2 separate regions of the Homo sapiens genome follow, and region 2 is linked to region 1. Evidence: promoter capture Hi-C in 16 types of primary human blood cells and fetal thymus (Javierre and others, 2016). All regions are on one chromosome and are shown on one strand. Each heading gives the region's core, a stretch centred on a gene start or on the middle of the fragment in contact. The rest is flanking DNA. Distances are from core to core; before and after follow the strand shown.

Evidence for each region. The method cuts DNA at HindIII sites, captures the fragments that hold promoters and counts their contacts. A CHiCAGO score of 5 or more calls a contact.
Region 2: a contact is called between a fragment that was not itself captured here and the fragment with the promoter of TSPAN3 in region 1, in 5 of 17 cell types (total B cells, total CD8 T cells, non-activated CD4 T cells and 2 more). The highest score is 7.0, in total B cells.

What each region holds. Positions count from the first base shown.
Region 1 is chr15:77,067,357-77,075,149 of GRCh38, forward strand. TSPAN3 (tetraspanin 3) reads right to left here and starts at 3,753. Exons shown (of 7, transcript NM_005724.6): 1 at 3,536-3,753. The coding sequence starts at 3,598. RefSeq lists silencers at 509-598, 3,220-3,919 and an enhancer at 4,060-4,119. The HindIII fragment of the contact is 12,417 bases long and covers 2,617-7,793 here.
Region 2 is chr15:76,901,382-76,909,174 of GRCh38, forward strand. It overlaps SCAPER (S-phase cyclin A associated protein in the ER), which reads right to left and starts at 3,959. Exons shown (of 32, transcript NM_020843.4): 1 at 3,918-3,959. RefSeq lists silencers at 3,535-3,614, 3,635-3,744, 3,755-4,064 and an enhancer at 3,805-4,305. The HindIII fragment of the contact is 186 bases long and covers 4,197-4,382 here.

The DNA.
Region 1 (7,793 bases), core at 2,503-5,002:
CTGAGTATTTCAGGTATATATCTATCTCCATGTCACAGTTCAATGAACAAAATGCCAGCAGAATCAGGATATCAAGACATAAGAAAGTGTAGTTTAAAGGTCTTGCCAAAGCAATTAAACTTTGACCCTTGTTAACAATCAGCCATTACCATCTGACAGTGAAGAGCCAATGCAACATAGTTTTTATTGCCTACAGTTGCCCAAGGGAACCTAGGTAAACATTTGATAAGCTCTATGGAGAGTATGTTTATTCTTCCACTTATTCATCATCTCAAGGCATTAAAAGGAGGGAGGGGCCAGCATATAAGAATACATTTATTAGAACTGAAGAATGCATTACAAATTCCCAGGAAGAACCTTTTAACATTTTTTAATGTACTTCCTCATAATGACTTAATTCAAAACCAAACAAAGTGTCATGTAAATTCTGGTACAGTTTCTAATTTTAGCAATCTCAAAATCAGCATGCTTTAGAGAAGTGATTCTAACAACTTTCTTCTCTTTACAAATCTTCTGAAATCACACTTTGTCCTAACATCACAGTCTCTAGAGTATGGGACAACCTGGGTTTGAACGCAGGCTGTATCACACCTTGGGTGTGCTACTTTGGCTCAGTCAACCTTAATGTTCTCCTCTAAAATGTACCTAATATTCCCTGCTAGATGGGAAAGCTGTGAGGATATGCCATGTAAAGTGTTTAGCACAGTGCCTGGGGTATAGTAACTCAAATGTTAGTTGCCATTACCCATCATCATCAGATTCCCACAGTTAGTCCACAAACTAATACTTTCTTGGGAGACATACCTAATGCTGTTTCCTCATTAGCTACATTGCACTGTGACACATTTGCCCCCAGCGTATCTGCTTAACTTCCTTATCACAGCTCACAAAAACTTTACTACCCTACTAACCAAGATAAAGCATATTTTTACTAAACATTACCACTTCAGTCTTGGCAATAACCCGCTATGAAAAGCACCACTGAAGTTCAAAATAACTTTCTTCACTGGAATAACAGTACATATATTTACACAATATCCAAAGATTCAGAGGAGTCACTTAGAACTGATATTTTAGAGTAAATAAAAATCTAATTTAAAGAAAATGGTTACTGTATTTCCAATATTTTGTTACATGAACAATTCCAGTCCCTGAGCTTGAATAACCTAGAATTCACCTAATATTCTTCAAAATCAAATAGTTATGGCCATAAATTCACAAGGAACTGTAAAGAGTACAAAGCCACATCTTTACCTCTTAGGTAGCTTACTAGCTGACAACGTGTTTCTCATTTGGGGACCCCTGAAAATTATTTTTCCTTTTAAAAAAGCCTGTAACTCTTAAAAAAGATAAATAAAAAATAAGTGAGAACACACGGTGCTTGGTTTTCTGTTCCTGCATCAGTTTGTTGAGGATGATGGCTTCCTGCTCCATCCATGTCCCTGTAAAGGACATGATCTCATTCTTTTTTGTGGCTGCGTGGTGTTCCATGGTGTATATGTGCCGCATTTTCTTTGTCCAGTCTACCACTGATGGCCATTTGGGTTGGTTCCATGTTTTTGCTATTGTGAACGGTGCTGCAGTGAATATATGCGTGCAAGTGTCTTTATAACAGAATGATTTATATTCCTTTGGGTATGTACCCAGTAGTGGGATTGCTGGGTCGAATGGTAGGAGAACGTCATATAATTTCTACATGCCAAGAAATAGTATTCTTCTTTTCATTTGTTTTCCAGTCATTTAGAAATGTAAATATTATTCTGGGCTCTCAGGTTGTAGAAAAACAGGTAGCTAACCGTTTTGTGCTCTTGGGCCAGAGATTGCTGACTCCTGGTTTATAACGAGATGCTATGAGAATTAATGACTTAATCATTGTAGAATACATTTCTCTTTATGGAATAAAAAATGTTATGGATGCATAAGTAGCAGTAGGTATATAGATACGTATTAAATTAGCAAAAGATGCCCTTATAATGGTCAGATTCACAAATCATGCCACATCTACAAAGAGAAGACTGATACGACTTTTGCTAATGGAACTGGTTCTATATGTGCATTTCATTCTTCACAATAAACTCAAGAAACTGAAAAAATAAAATAAAATAAATAAATAAGCCTGTAACTCAAATTAAAGTATAAGAAACACTGCTCTAATTGGAAAAGAAGAAATCACGGAAATGCCAATGTCGCCTGGGTGTTTGCCAACAGCTACTACCTCCCAGTTAGGACTCTTCACACACAAACGCCCCGAAGGACTCTGGCAATACAAGTGTGTAGCAAGTGCTTTTTAACATATAACCATCCTTTTATGAGACAGCTGTCAGGATATGAAGTTTTATCCCTTGTTGGGGGGTCGGGGGAGGAGGAAAGGATTCTTTCCAGAACAGGTGTGCGTATGCGTGGGAGGGAGGAGCTGAATGGGGAGGAGGAAGAGGCACAGTATGGTTAACCGGAATGTTCAAGGAGTGCTCTGGCGACTGTGGACAGAGCAATCTGTCCAGGGCACTCAAGTGTTTAAGGAAATGACAAGTTCAGAGAGGCAAGGTGATTTGGGACCAGACTGAGGACTTCTGCTCCAAGACCAGGGGAAGGAGTTGAACCTTATTCTACCGCTGAAGCTTCTGTTTTCCTTATTTTCAGATCAAGTGATGTGATAGAGGAAACGTTTTAAAAGATTTATCCGGGTGCAAAGTCCAGATGGGCTGGAGGGTGGAGAGACGGATAGGAACAACTTAGGTTACTATAAAAGTCCCTGATGAGATAAGGACCCAAACTAAGATGACATAAACATTCCTTTCAAAGAGGGTGTACCCCTTAAAAATTCATAAGCCACCTTTTATTGAAAGTGAACTCATCACTTTCAAAATCTTGTGACATCTCCATCATATATTTAACCAAGAGTTATAATCTCACAGTTTGGTCACCCCCATGACCAAAACAAATAGACCGATGTTCTTGGTCAATGGATTATTTGGCTCCTCGAGTTGAAACCCTTCATTTTCTGGGCTGGTGACAGTCAGCCGGTTCTCCACACACAAAGGGCGTTAAGTGGAACCCCCGCCCCGGCTCCGCAGCGTCCCCGCGGATCTGCCCGCCTCGGGACGGCCACTCGTCTGCGAGGCCCCGACAAAGAGCGCGGAACCTGAGCCTCTGGCGAAGATCCTATTTCGAGCCCGACGTCCTGCTACAGTCTGCAATAAGCGCTCTCCGTCCAGCCGGCGACTCCGGGGGGGGGAGACTGGGGCGCCTGGCACGGAGCCAGCCCGCGTGGGCCGAGCGCGGAGGCGCCGGCTGGAGGCCGTGGAGTCCCTGAAGGCCTCCCCTCGCTGTCCTCCGCGCCCAGGCTCCCGGCTTGGTCCGGCAGGGACCTCGCGAAGCGGCCTCACACCCGGCCCTCCCCTCGCCTCAGCCGCCTGAGGGCCCGCGCGCGGCCCCCGCGCGCCCGCCCAGGCCCAAGCCCGGCCCCCACGGGCGCCTCCGCCGCGGCCTCGCCCGGCCCCGCCGCCGGCCCCTCGCTCTGCCCGGCCCCGCTCACCCAGAAGATGAGGTTGAGAAAGACCAGCACGGTCTTGGAGGAGGTGATGCCGCACTGGCCCATGGCGCCGGTGGCCCGCGAAGGCCCGGCCCGGAGAGCGGGGCTGCGCTCACCGAGAGAGCGGCAATGGCGGCGGCGCCTCCTCGCTAGGAACTGCACGGCCTGCGCGGCGCTCCCCGCAGCCCCTGCGCCGTCGCGCAGCCCCGACCCCAGCAAGTGCCTCGCTCCTCCGCGCAGCCGCCGCAGTCCCCTCAGGGCTCCCGCGCCGCTCCCTGGCAACCGAGTCCCGCCCCACGCGGCCGGTAGCTTCAGCCAATCGCCTCTGCGGAGGCTGCAGTGAGGCCACGCCTCTTAAAGGAGCCAAGGCCTCAGCGCCTTTTCTTGGCCTCTGGCCGCCCTTGGACGCAGATGGCTCCCTAGGGAGGTTCTGGTGGACCAAACCCACTCTCCTCCTATGACTATGCCACCCTTATAGATGATTCAGAGCCCTCTGAGTGCTATCTTTCTACCTAGCCCATTCTCCCCTAGGAAGGTTGGAGACACTAATCTCTGCCTGACCAGATTCTCCTGACCAGGTTAAAATCTTGGCAGCACTGTTGGTGAGAAGTGCAAAGAAAAACAACAAATACTTATGGAGAAACTTATTGTACCAGGCGCTGGGCTAGACCTCAGAAGAGTCAGAGAGGAGAAAAGGCTGGTGATGGCGTTAGCAAGGCAGAGACATGTTTGTGTGGGTGAGTGGTTGGGAACAAGTTCTATTCCAGGGTAGTAAGTTTTGGACCAAGATTCGCAACGATTACAGAAACATCTCTTTGCATTGCAACATTTCACATTCTTCCCCCAATCTTGAATCCGTCATAGCAATTAATTATTGGGTGCTCACCCGGTGCCAGGCTCCATTAGTTCATTTAACCCCCACCACAACCCTGGATGGAAGGCACTATGGTTATCAGCCTCATTTTACTGATCGGGTAATTGAGGCTTAGAAAGGTTAAGAAGTTCGCCCAGAGCCACACATAGTAAGTGGTCTAGTGCAAAAAACACATCATCAGTCACACAATAAACTGCCTCTGTTTGCTGTCTTTCCTGCCATTATAATCCTGCACTCCCTCCTTGACCGCGCCCGTAAGGATTTCCATTTACTGGTCTTTATCAGCTCGCTCTCATGCAATCTCCCCCACTCATCACCTTTCCCAGGCACTCTCAGAAGTACCTGTTAATCTCAGCATCCTGTGCATTTACACCAAGCAGCAGCAACAGCCATTTATTCACTCATCAAACTTGCCGCGTGTCCCCTCTGGGCCTCACTGTTGTCGGTGGTGGATATTCCACTGTGAGCAAGACGTATCCTTCCTTCCATGGCTTACATTCGTTCGGGCAGAGGAGGCAGACCATAAACAAACGGGCAAGTGGGTATATGACATGAGGTAGTGTTAGGAAACAATTCAGAGGAAAGGAATAGAGTGATGAGAGGAGTCCTCTCTGAGGAGAGAACATTGGAGGGGACCCAAGGGAGGTGAGGGGAACAGCCCAAAGATGAGAGCAGCAAGGACAAAGGCCCAGAGACCGGAACATGATCACTGTGCTGTAGGAAGGGGAACACAGAGAGCCTAGTGTGCTGGAGGTGAGCGAGGCCGGATCACCAACAGCCTACTACGCCAGGCAGAAGCCTTTGAGCAGACCAGTAACACCATCTAAGTGTTTCAAGTGCCATTCTTGCCATACCATGGAGGTCCTAGTTAAAGAAAGAAAAATGATGGGCTCTCAAACATGATTCCCTTTGAACATCTATCTTCTTGACGCCTCTGCCCTCTGTAAATTTCTCTGTCTGCTTTGCTCTGAGTGCTTTTCCTCCTTTTCCAAAACATCCCCTTTGCATTTCTTCATCCTCATCGTGTCCCTTCTCATTTCCCTGTGAAGGTCTCATCAAGTCCTTCTTGTGCCTTCTCCTTGAGTGGGTCTCAGACCCCCCCCCCCCCCACATTACAATCATCTGGGCCACACAGACAAACTCCATCAGATTCTCTGGGGGCGAGCCTCAGGGAATCAGGTGTTTTTCAAAAACACACCAGGTGATTCGAATATGCTGTTGGGGCTGCAAACCACAGTTCTGAGTTTACAAGCATGGTCATGCCTCTCCTATCCTAAAAAGAAAAGCCTCTCACTTAAACACCATGTTTTACTTTTTCTTTCTTCTCTTAGCCAAAGTTCCTAAAAGAGTCATCTCATCCAGTGCTTCTCAGACTTTGCCTTGCGCACAGATCACCTGAGGATGCAGACTCCAGGTGGTGGGGGTGCAGCTGGGCCCCTCTTTGTAGCAAGGGGCTGGACTTCTGCCCTTGACTCTTTTGCTTCCCACTCACTTTTTTTTGTTGTTGAGATGTAGTCTCGCTCTGTCGCCCAGGCTGGAGTGCAGTGGTGCAATCTCCGCTCACTGCAACCTCCGCCTCCCAGGTTCAAGCGATTCTCCTGCTTCAGCCTCCTGAGTAGCTGGAATTACAGGTGTCCACCACCACACCTGGCTAATTTTTGTATTTTTAGTAGAGACGGGGTTTCACCATGTTGGTCAGGCTGGTCTTGAACTCCTGACCTCATGATCCACCTGCCTTGGCCTCTCAAAGTGTTGGGATTACAGGCGTGAGCCATCGTGCCTGGCCTCACTTTTTGACTCACTGCCATGTGGCATCACCCCCACAGTGCCACCGATATCGCTCTTGTCAATGTTACCAGTGACTTATCTGCTACCCCTTCTCTGAGGTGGCATATATCATGGTTAAGAGCACAGGCTCGGGGACCAGGTAGCCTAGCTGGGTCCTCTCTCTGTGCCTCAGTATCCCCATCATAGGGAGAAAATGATGATGACATTACTTCCCTAATTATCATGTGATTGCTGTGAGAATTAAGTGCATTCATATACATATAGCTGTCAGAAAAGTACCTGGCACACAGGTGCTTTGTAATCACCGGAGTTTACTGTTTCCGAGACCTAACCATATTTGGCTCCGTTGACTTCTTCGTACTCAGAACTCTGCCTTTCCTTAGCTTCCATAACACCATCATCTCTTAGTTCACTGTCTGCCTTTGCAGCAGCACCTGTTCCTTGCACCCATTGGATGTTGGTGTCTCCCAGAGTTCTGGCTTAGGTCTTTTGATTTTCTCAACCAACCTGGGCCAGCTCACCCAGAGCACTGGATTCCGTTGCTATCCACGTGCAGGACTTTCCTGAACCTACAGCTTCAGCCCAGGTCTTTCTCTCAATTTCCTTTCCATGAATCCGACTGCCTGCTGTGTTGCTCCAGGTGGATTCATTTATTGATTCAACACATTTATTGGTTACCTACTCTGTGCCTGACCCTATGCCACGTGGTGGGGGGTGGTTCTAGCAACATAGTGGTTAGACCTGGGTGTGTGATGGCCCCAGGGAGCTTGCAATCCAGAGCGGAGATTCAACGCTAATTATGAAATTATTTATCTAATTGCAACTGGGATAAGCAATACAAAGGAGACCCTCAGGCTGCTGTGAGAGTTTATAACAGGGACCATACCATAACCTTGTATGGGGTTAACTTATATGTGTGCCAGACCCGGCAGGTCCCAAACTGAACTCATAATTTCCCCTCAACCTGCCTCTCCTCTACCTGTGTTCCTTAGCTTCATGAATAGTCCACCCATCCTTTTCCCTGGGCCAAGACTTGGATATTATGACCCACAGTCTCCCTCACTGACCCCTTCTACCCACCGAGAGGATCCTTCTTACTGGAAAATTAGCCTTCCTGGGTAACTCTTGGAACTCCAAATTCCTACTGCCCAGTGCTCAGGAAGTCTGATTTTACCTCCACTGACAAAGTTGCTAAGAGAGCAACTGAGGGCATGAAGTCCCTCCCAAGGAAGCACAGACCCACTCTGTCTTGCTGCATCTGACAGTGGCACACCTGTCTGGGGATGATGGGAGGATGGAGCAATTGTGACTTCGCTTACTGACCCCTGGCCTGTAACTTGCCCTAATAAACTCTGTTCTTCAACCCGTACTGTGTGAAGTAAAATTCACTCTGATCCATGTTGTATGACACAAAGAGTCTATCTTTTACCAAAAAAGAAAAGGTTTATTCATTTTCTTTCCATTGTAAAGCAATGCCTGCTTGTGGTGGTTTGTGCCTTCCATTTTTTTTTTTTTTTTTTTTTTGAGACGGAGTCTCACTCTCTCGCCCAGGCTGGAGTGCAGTGGCACGATCTTGGCTCACTGCAAGCTCCGCTTCCC
Region 2 (7,793 bases), core at 3,040-5,539, 170 kb before region 1:
TTGAAAATACTGAAACTCTCTCTCTTTTCCAATACTGTATTAAAAGCAGGCCTAATGCATACTAAAATCTTGACAAATTAAATATGATGTCTGAAACCTGCTTCAAAACAATTTAGTGAGGAGGTAACTTTTATGAAATAATATTGCTCATGTATAATATATAGCTAATTTTTGAAATAGATTGATACATAGCAGTTCATCATACTATTCTCTTTTGCGTATGTTTCAAAACATAAAATGAACGTATTACTTTAAGAAGTTATCATTTTAGCAAAACTTTATGAAATCTTTAGTGTTTCATGTCATAGAAGAAAAAGTCTTTCCATAAATAATTTCTAATAATTTTTTTTTTTTTTGAGACGGAGTCTCGCTCTGTTGTTCAGGCTGCAGTGCAGTGGCACGATCTCAGCTCACTGCAACCTCCACCTCCCGGATTCAAGCGATTCTCCTGCCTCAGCCTCCTGAGTAGCTGGGACTACAAGCATGAGCCACCACCTCCAGCTAATTTTTTGTATTTTTAGTAGACACAGGGTTTCACCGTGTTAGCCAGGATGGTCTCGATCTCCTGACCTTGTGATCTGCCCACCTCAGCCTCCCAAAGTGCTAGGATTACAGGCATGAGCCACCGTACCCAGCCTCTAATAATTTTTAAGACTAGCTCCATCATTGGACTCCAGATCTTTTCACTCTTTATATTTCACAAGACCCATAGCCAATCAGTGAAAGCCAAACATGTTTGTGAAAAAGGTTAGCTACAAATGCACCATGGAATACTATGCAGCCATAAAAAAGAACAAAATCATGCCCTCTGCAGCAACACGGATAGAGCTGGAGACCAATGTCCTAAGTGACTTAACATGAGAAAAGAAAACCAAATACTGTGTGTTCTCTCTTATAAGTGGGAATTAAACACAGAATATGTGATTGTAAAAGTCACAAACAACAGGCACTAGGGATCACTAGGCCAAGGGGAGCATGGGCTGAAAGACCACCTGTTGTGTACTATGCTTATGGCCTGTGTGATGGGATAATTGGGACCCCAAGCATCGGCATCAATTTACCCATGTAACAAATCTACACATGTACCCTCTACTATATAAGTTGAATTTTTTTTTAAAAAAAGGTTACCATCCAGCAGAAACTGCAAACAGAATTTTATTAATGATTTAATTTTTGCTATGCCAGCCATTTACAGTTTTCTCTTCTACAATTTCAGAAATGCCAATTCCACAATGGATATCAGATTGTACCCTTACAGAGAATTCTATTAAACTTCCCCCTAAATAATACCCCCACTTTCTAAGTGTTTAAATAACATTCACATGTGATTCCCAAAGAAGTTGTTTATCCTTTAAAACTAGTCTGGGCTGTGGTCAGGTATGAAAGTGAAAGAGGCCAGGTGCAGTGGCGCACGCCTGTAATCCCAGCACTTTGGGAGGCCGAGGTGGGTGGATCATCTGAGGTCAGGAGTTTGAGACCAGCATGGCCAACATGGTGAAACCCGGTCTCTACTAAAAATACAAAAAAAAATTAGCCAGGCATGGTGGTGAGTGCCTGTAGTTCCAGCTACTCAGGAAGCTGAGGCAGGAAAATCGCTTGAACTTGGGAGGTGGAGTTTGCAGTGAGCCAAGATTGCGCCACTGCACTCCAGCCTGGGTGACAGAGTGAGACTCGGTTTCAAAAAAAAAAAAAAGAAAGTGAAAGAAATGACAGAATCTCAAGTCCCTTCATCTTACTTATCTTTAAAACATTCCTGCAGCTAAATGAAGACATTAATGACCTTAATATCAATCTTTTAGGAGTTCTTAAAATACCTATGAAGCACCAATGGCAAACATTTTTAAAGTCTGTTTAGAATACTATATCCTTTGGACCAGTCACCAAAATTTATTTATAAACACATTTGTACAGTACTGCTGATTACACTTCCATGGTTATTTGACCTGAACAACCAAGTGATTAACCATAATGCTATGGTCTGCATGTTTGTGTTCTTCAAAATTCTTGTGGAAATCCTAGTTTCCAAGGTCATATCAGGAGGTGGGGCCTTTGGGAGATGACTGTATTATGAAAGCAGAACCTTAATGAATGGGATAAATTCCCTTATAAGAGGCCAGAGAGAGACCCCTTCACCCTTGCACCATGTAAGGAGACAGCTAGAGGGTGCCATCTATTAACCAGAAAGCAGGCTATCACCAAACACTGAATCATCAGACATCTTGATCTAGGACTTCCCAGCCTCCAAAACTGCAAGAAATGAATTTCTGTTGTTTATAAGCCACTCAGTCTGAGGTATTTTGCTATACCAGACCCAAATGGACCAAAGACACATAGAGTATATTTTTAATGCAGCTCAAGGGAGTGTGGAGAAAGAAGGAAAAGAGCATTTGTTGAGGGCTTACCATGGGCTAGGAACAGTTCTCAATACTTTACAGACACCTAATTTATTACTATCAACAAAATTATGAGGTGGATATTATTCCTACTTTACAGATAAGAAAGGCTCAGAAAAATTAATTTGCCAAAAACAAGGGTTGGGGCTGAGATTCAAACTCAAAACAGTCTGCCTTCAAAGCCATCAGATTACTTCTCCCACAGACAACCTTCCAAATCACATTAAAACTTGACTCTTTGATTGATTAAAAATATTAATTCTTTAGTGGATATCATTCTTCAAGTGGCATAAATCATCTGCAACCAACAAACTTTGAGGAAAAGTCATAGTTAACAGAAATAACAGAAGGGAAAGAGCACCAGTATAGGCCAGAGTGGGACAGTGGTCAGACTACCAACCTTAGGTCAGAAAACTTAACCCCAGATTTACCACTCACCAGCTGGTGATCTAAGGCAAGTAATAACCTTTTGAGCCCCCGTTTCTCCATTCATAAAATAAGTATTACTCCTAGCCCATCCATCCTTCTACCAGATTATTTATGAAGATGAAAAGTTAATGATGAAATTAATCCATAAACTAAGACAAACTATAATTCATATAAGGAATTAGTATCTGTTCGGTAAAATGACTATTAATGAATAGCTATTTTCATGGAAAATAACTTGTCACAACTAGAATAAGAGATGCAGTCCACCAGCAACAGGAAGCTGCTCACAAACAGGCGGCCTCATCTCAGCTGGGGCCCCCTTAACAGCAGCAGGTGTTGCTTACAGGACCAGTTTTGTGCCTGCTTTCTAACAATCCCGTTCCTCCCTGGTGCCGTTCCCACGAACGCGCCTGGAAAACGGTGTAGAGGAAAGGCGCCAAGGAAGTGCTGTTTTGGAAAAGAGCAGCAACAGAGGCAGGAGGCTGGGTCCCACTACTCCCAGGTGCGAGAGGCTCTTCGCCCCTCCAGGCCTCAGCGCACGCATCTGGAAGACGGAGAGGCCATTCCTGCCCCGTTTCCTGGGCAGAGCTAAGATCAGAGTACAGGGAAAGCATGGTAAACCCCGCTGGGAATGACAGATGACGAAGACGATCACCTGTCAAACGAAGGGAGGCTCCTCCAGGGGCCCCTCGCATTTAGACATTCCAGAAGCCTCGTCACCCGCGGCCGGGGCTGCCCCCAAGTGAGGTGACGCGGCAGCCCCCCACTCACCCCTCAGACCGCGTAGTGTGCGGGGTCTCACGTCCCTCACACCCCAGATGAGCCCGCAGGGCAGGGCCCGGACGCGGCTCACCCCAGCCCCCGTCCCGAGGCCTCCGAGGCCGACCTCCGAGCCCTCCCCAGGCGACCGCGGCTCCCCTCCCCCAGCAACGATCCCTGCCCCGCTCAACTCGCACTCCCAGGTGAGGGGAGGGGGTGAAAGGGCGTACCCCGCCGCCATTTTGTCCCCTGGTCCCCGCAAGGCATTCAGACGGCCCGCGCCCCAACCCGGACCCGCCCGGGTCTGCGCTACGCACGCCCCTCGCGGACACTCACCCCCGACCGCCCTGCTTAGTTCGGGGCGGCTCAAAGCGTCCCGCCGGGAAAGGGGCGTGACGGGGCGGGGCAGGGAGGCCTCGGAGAGGCGGGGTGGCTTCCCGGCGCACCACGTGATCTCAGCCGCTGCCGCGCCGCTCCCGGCTGCAAGATCTGTGTTGTCCGCGCGCAGGCGCACGCCCGTTCGCGCCGTTGGGGCGCCCAGGCGGGAGGTGTGAGGGTTGATTTGGTTCGATGTCCCGGCGCGGCGTTTCCGAAGCTGTTTCTTTTCCTAGGTTAAGCTTACACCGCCGCTTTTGGCCACACAGGTCTTTCTCGTACTCAATCTCTTCCCTCCTCCTGCCTTATCACCACAGTCAATCCACAGATTAAGGACTTAGAGACGCGCCTCACAGAAATCTGTGCTGGCGAAAGCACTTGACAGGAGCACGCTGGGCTGCGCTGAACACAACTAGGCCTCCGAGAAGCTTTATCAGGGCCCTTCTGTGTGCCAGGCTTGGAAGGTCGAAGTACAGAGACCTAACAAATACGTTTCATCTACTTCAAAGACAAACATATGATGAATTAAATACTTTAACGTTTAAATCAGTCTGAACAAAATAGAAAAAAGATTCAATGCAGACTGTAATTATCAAACGAATATTCACCGTCCCTTTTCATCCAGCTGGGAAACAGCTCTTTACCCTTCCCTCTCCCTCCCCACCCGCAGTAGGCGGGAAGTCCTGGACTCACAAGCGTTGTGGGGGCAGGAACCATATGGCTATGTTCTGGCTCCCCTTCTCTCTTGCCTTCTTAGAAAACTCGCTTTTTCATTTATTCAGCAAATGTTTATTGACCACATACTATATATCAGATGGTATTCTAGATGCTTGGAGTTAATACGTGAGCAAAATAAACAGAAATCTCTAAAAAACCTCCGGCTTCTTGGAGCAGGGTGAAACCAGGCAAGTGTTACATCAAGTTTAGCCAAAAGCTGTGTCCTTACATATTTTAAGTTCAGCCTGAAGGTTTCTCCGTAAATAGTAAACTATAACCTAAATGGAGGTGTAAATACACTGCAACCTACTCTTGCGCCAATCACCAAGTTTTGGCCAAAGACGGCCAACTGTTCAAACCGTGTTCAAATAAGGTAAACGTCTAGCTATAACCATTCTGGCTGTTTCCCTACCTCACTTTTCTTTCTCTGTCTATAAACCTTTTTCCACCATGTGGCTCTGCGGGAGTCTGTATGAACCTACTCTGGCTCAGGAGGCTGCCTGATTCGGGAATAATTCTTTGCTCAAACTCTGTTTAATTTGGCTAATATTTTGCTTTTAACACAAGAAATAGTAAACACAATAAATAAGTAAATTATATAACATGATAAGCACTACAGTTAACAAAATGAGTAGGATAAGGGGGATAGAGTAGGGAGCATACTACAATTCTATAAAAGGCGGTCAGGGCCTCATTTCTTAATTATCCCCACTTCCTTTCATACTCATAAGCATGTAAACAACCTGAAGTCTCTCCCATCTTGAAATCTCCCGCCGAACCTACCAGACTCCACTTCAACCTCTGCTTTCTTTCCTATAATACATTTCTCCAATTATCTAAACAAGAGTGCCTCCAATTCCTCAACCACTACTCAAGTCTGGACTTACTGCACTCTGGTTTCTGCCCCACCACCCCACTGAAACCATTCTTTCCAACATCACTAGGGGCCAGCCGCCGTGGCTCGCGCCTGTAATCCCAGCACTTTGGGAGGCTGAGGCAGGTGGATCACCTGAGGTCAGGAGTTCAAGACCACCCTGGCCAAAATGGCGAAACCCTGTCTTTACCAAAAATACAAAAAAAAAAAAAAAAAAAATAGCCGGGTGCGGTGGCGCACACCTATAGTCCCAGCTACTCGGGAGGCTGAGGCACGAGAATCCCTTGAACCTGGATAGCAGAGGTTTGCAGTGAGCTGAGATCATGCCACTGCACTCCAGCCTGGGTGACAGTGCGAGACTCCATCTCAATTAAAAAAAAAAAAAAAAAAAAAGTTGGGCTGGGCTGGTGGCTCCCGCCTGTAATCCCAGCACTTTGGGAGGCCGAGGCAGGCAGATCACGAGGTCAGGAGATCGAGATCGAGACCATCCTGACCAACATGGTGAAACCCCATCTCTACTAAAAATAACAAAAATTAGCTGGGCGTGGTGGCATGTGCCTGTAATCCCAGCTACTCAGGAGTCTGAGGCAGGAGAATCGCTGAACCAGGGAGACGGAGGTTGCAGTGAGCACAGATCATGCCACTGCACTCAAGCCTGGCGACAGAGCGAGACTCTGTCTCAAAAAAAAAAAAAAAGTCACTAGGGATTTCCCTACTATATATCTTATGGACATTATCATCATTACCTAACTTAATTTCTCTTCATGACCCTCCTTCCTTCTGGAAATACTTTTCCTTGCCTTTCATTTTTACTCTCTTGGTAGCACTTCTCCATCTCTAACCACTCCCTCTCCATCTCTTTTAAAGTCTCTCTTATTTCTCCCAGCCTTTAAATATTGTTATCCCACAGGAATAGGTATAAGCCTTCACTCTTTTCCCACTGGACACACTCTCTACATGACCACTGCCTTTTACATAACTTTGGTTAGCATCTTTATGCTCTGGATTTCCGAATATATATCCCCAGCCCTGATTCCTACTCCTGGGATCCAGGCCACATTGTTAACTACCTACTGGTCATCTCCACTTGAATTAATAAAAATAAATATGACAAAAATAAAAATGATTCATCTTTCTTATATACATATAAAACAGCTTTATTGAGATGTAACCTACATACAAATCAGTGGTTTTTAGGATATTCACACAATTGTACAATCATCACTGCATTTTCTTTACCCCGGAAAGGAACCCAGTACTCACTTCTCCATTTTCCCTCAATTCTCTCAGCCATAGGCAACCACTAATCTACTTTCTCTATGCATAGATTTGCCTACTCCGGACACCTTGTATAAAGGGAGTCATGAGATGTGGTATTTTGTAACTGGCTTCTTTCACTTTGCATATATTCGAGGTATGTTTCTGGGCGCGGTGGCTCACGCCTGTAATCCCAGCACTTTGGGAGGCCAAGGCAGGCGGATCACAAGGTCAGCAGATCGAGACCATCCTAGCTAACAAGGTGAAACCCCGTCTAGACTAAAAAATAGAACAAATTAGCTGGGCGTGGTCGTGGGCGCCTGTAGTCCCAGCTACTGGGGAGGCTGAGGCAGGAGAATGGTGTGAACCCAGAAGGTGGAGCTTGCAGTGAGCCAAGATCGCTCCACTGCACTCCAGCCTGGGTGACAGAGTGAAACTCCATCTCAAAAAAAAAAAAAAAGGTATGTCCACGTTGTAGCATGCATCAACGCTTCATTCCTTTTTAAGGCTGAATAATAGTCCATTGTATAGAATATATAATCACCTTTTATTTATCCATCAGTGGAAGGACATACAGACTATTTCCACTTTTTGACTATTATGAACAATGCTGCTATGCGCATTCATTTACAAGTTTTTGTGGGGATATATATTTTCATTTATTTTGGGTATATTCCTAGGAGTAGAATTGCTGGGCTACATAGTAACTGTATTTTTAAATTTTTCTGGATCTGCTAGATGATTTACCAAACCAGCTACACCATTTTATACTCCCACCAGCAGCATATAAGGGTTCCAGTTTCTCCACATCTTTTCCAGCACTTACCATTGTCTGTCTTTTTTATTACAACCATCTGAGTGGATGTGAAGTGGTATCTCATTGTAGTTTTGATCTGGACTTCCCTGATAGCATAGTTTCATGTGCTTATTGGCCATTTATGTATGGTATTAGATAAATGTCTATTGAAATCCTTTGCCAATTTTTTAAT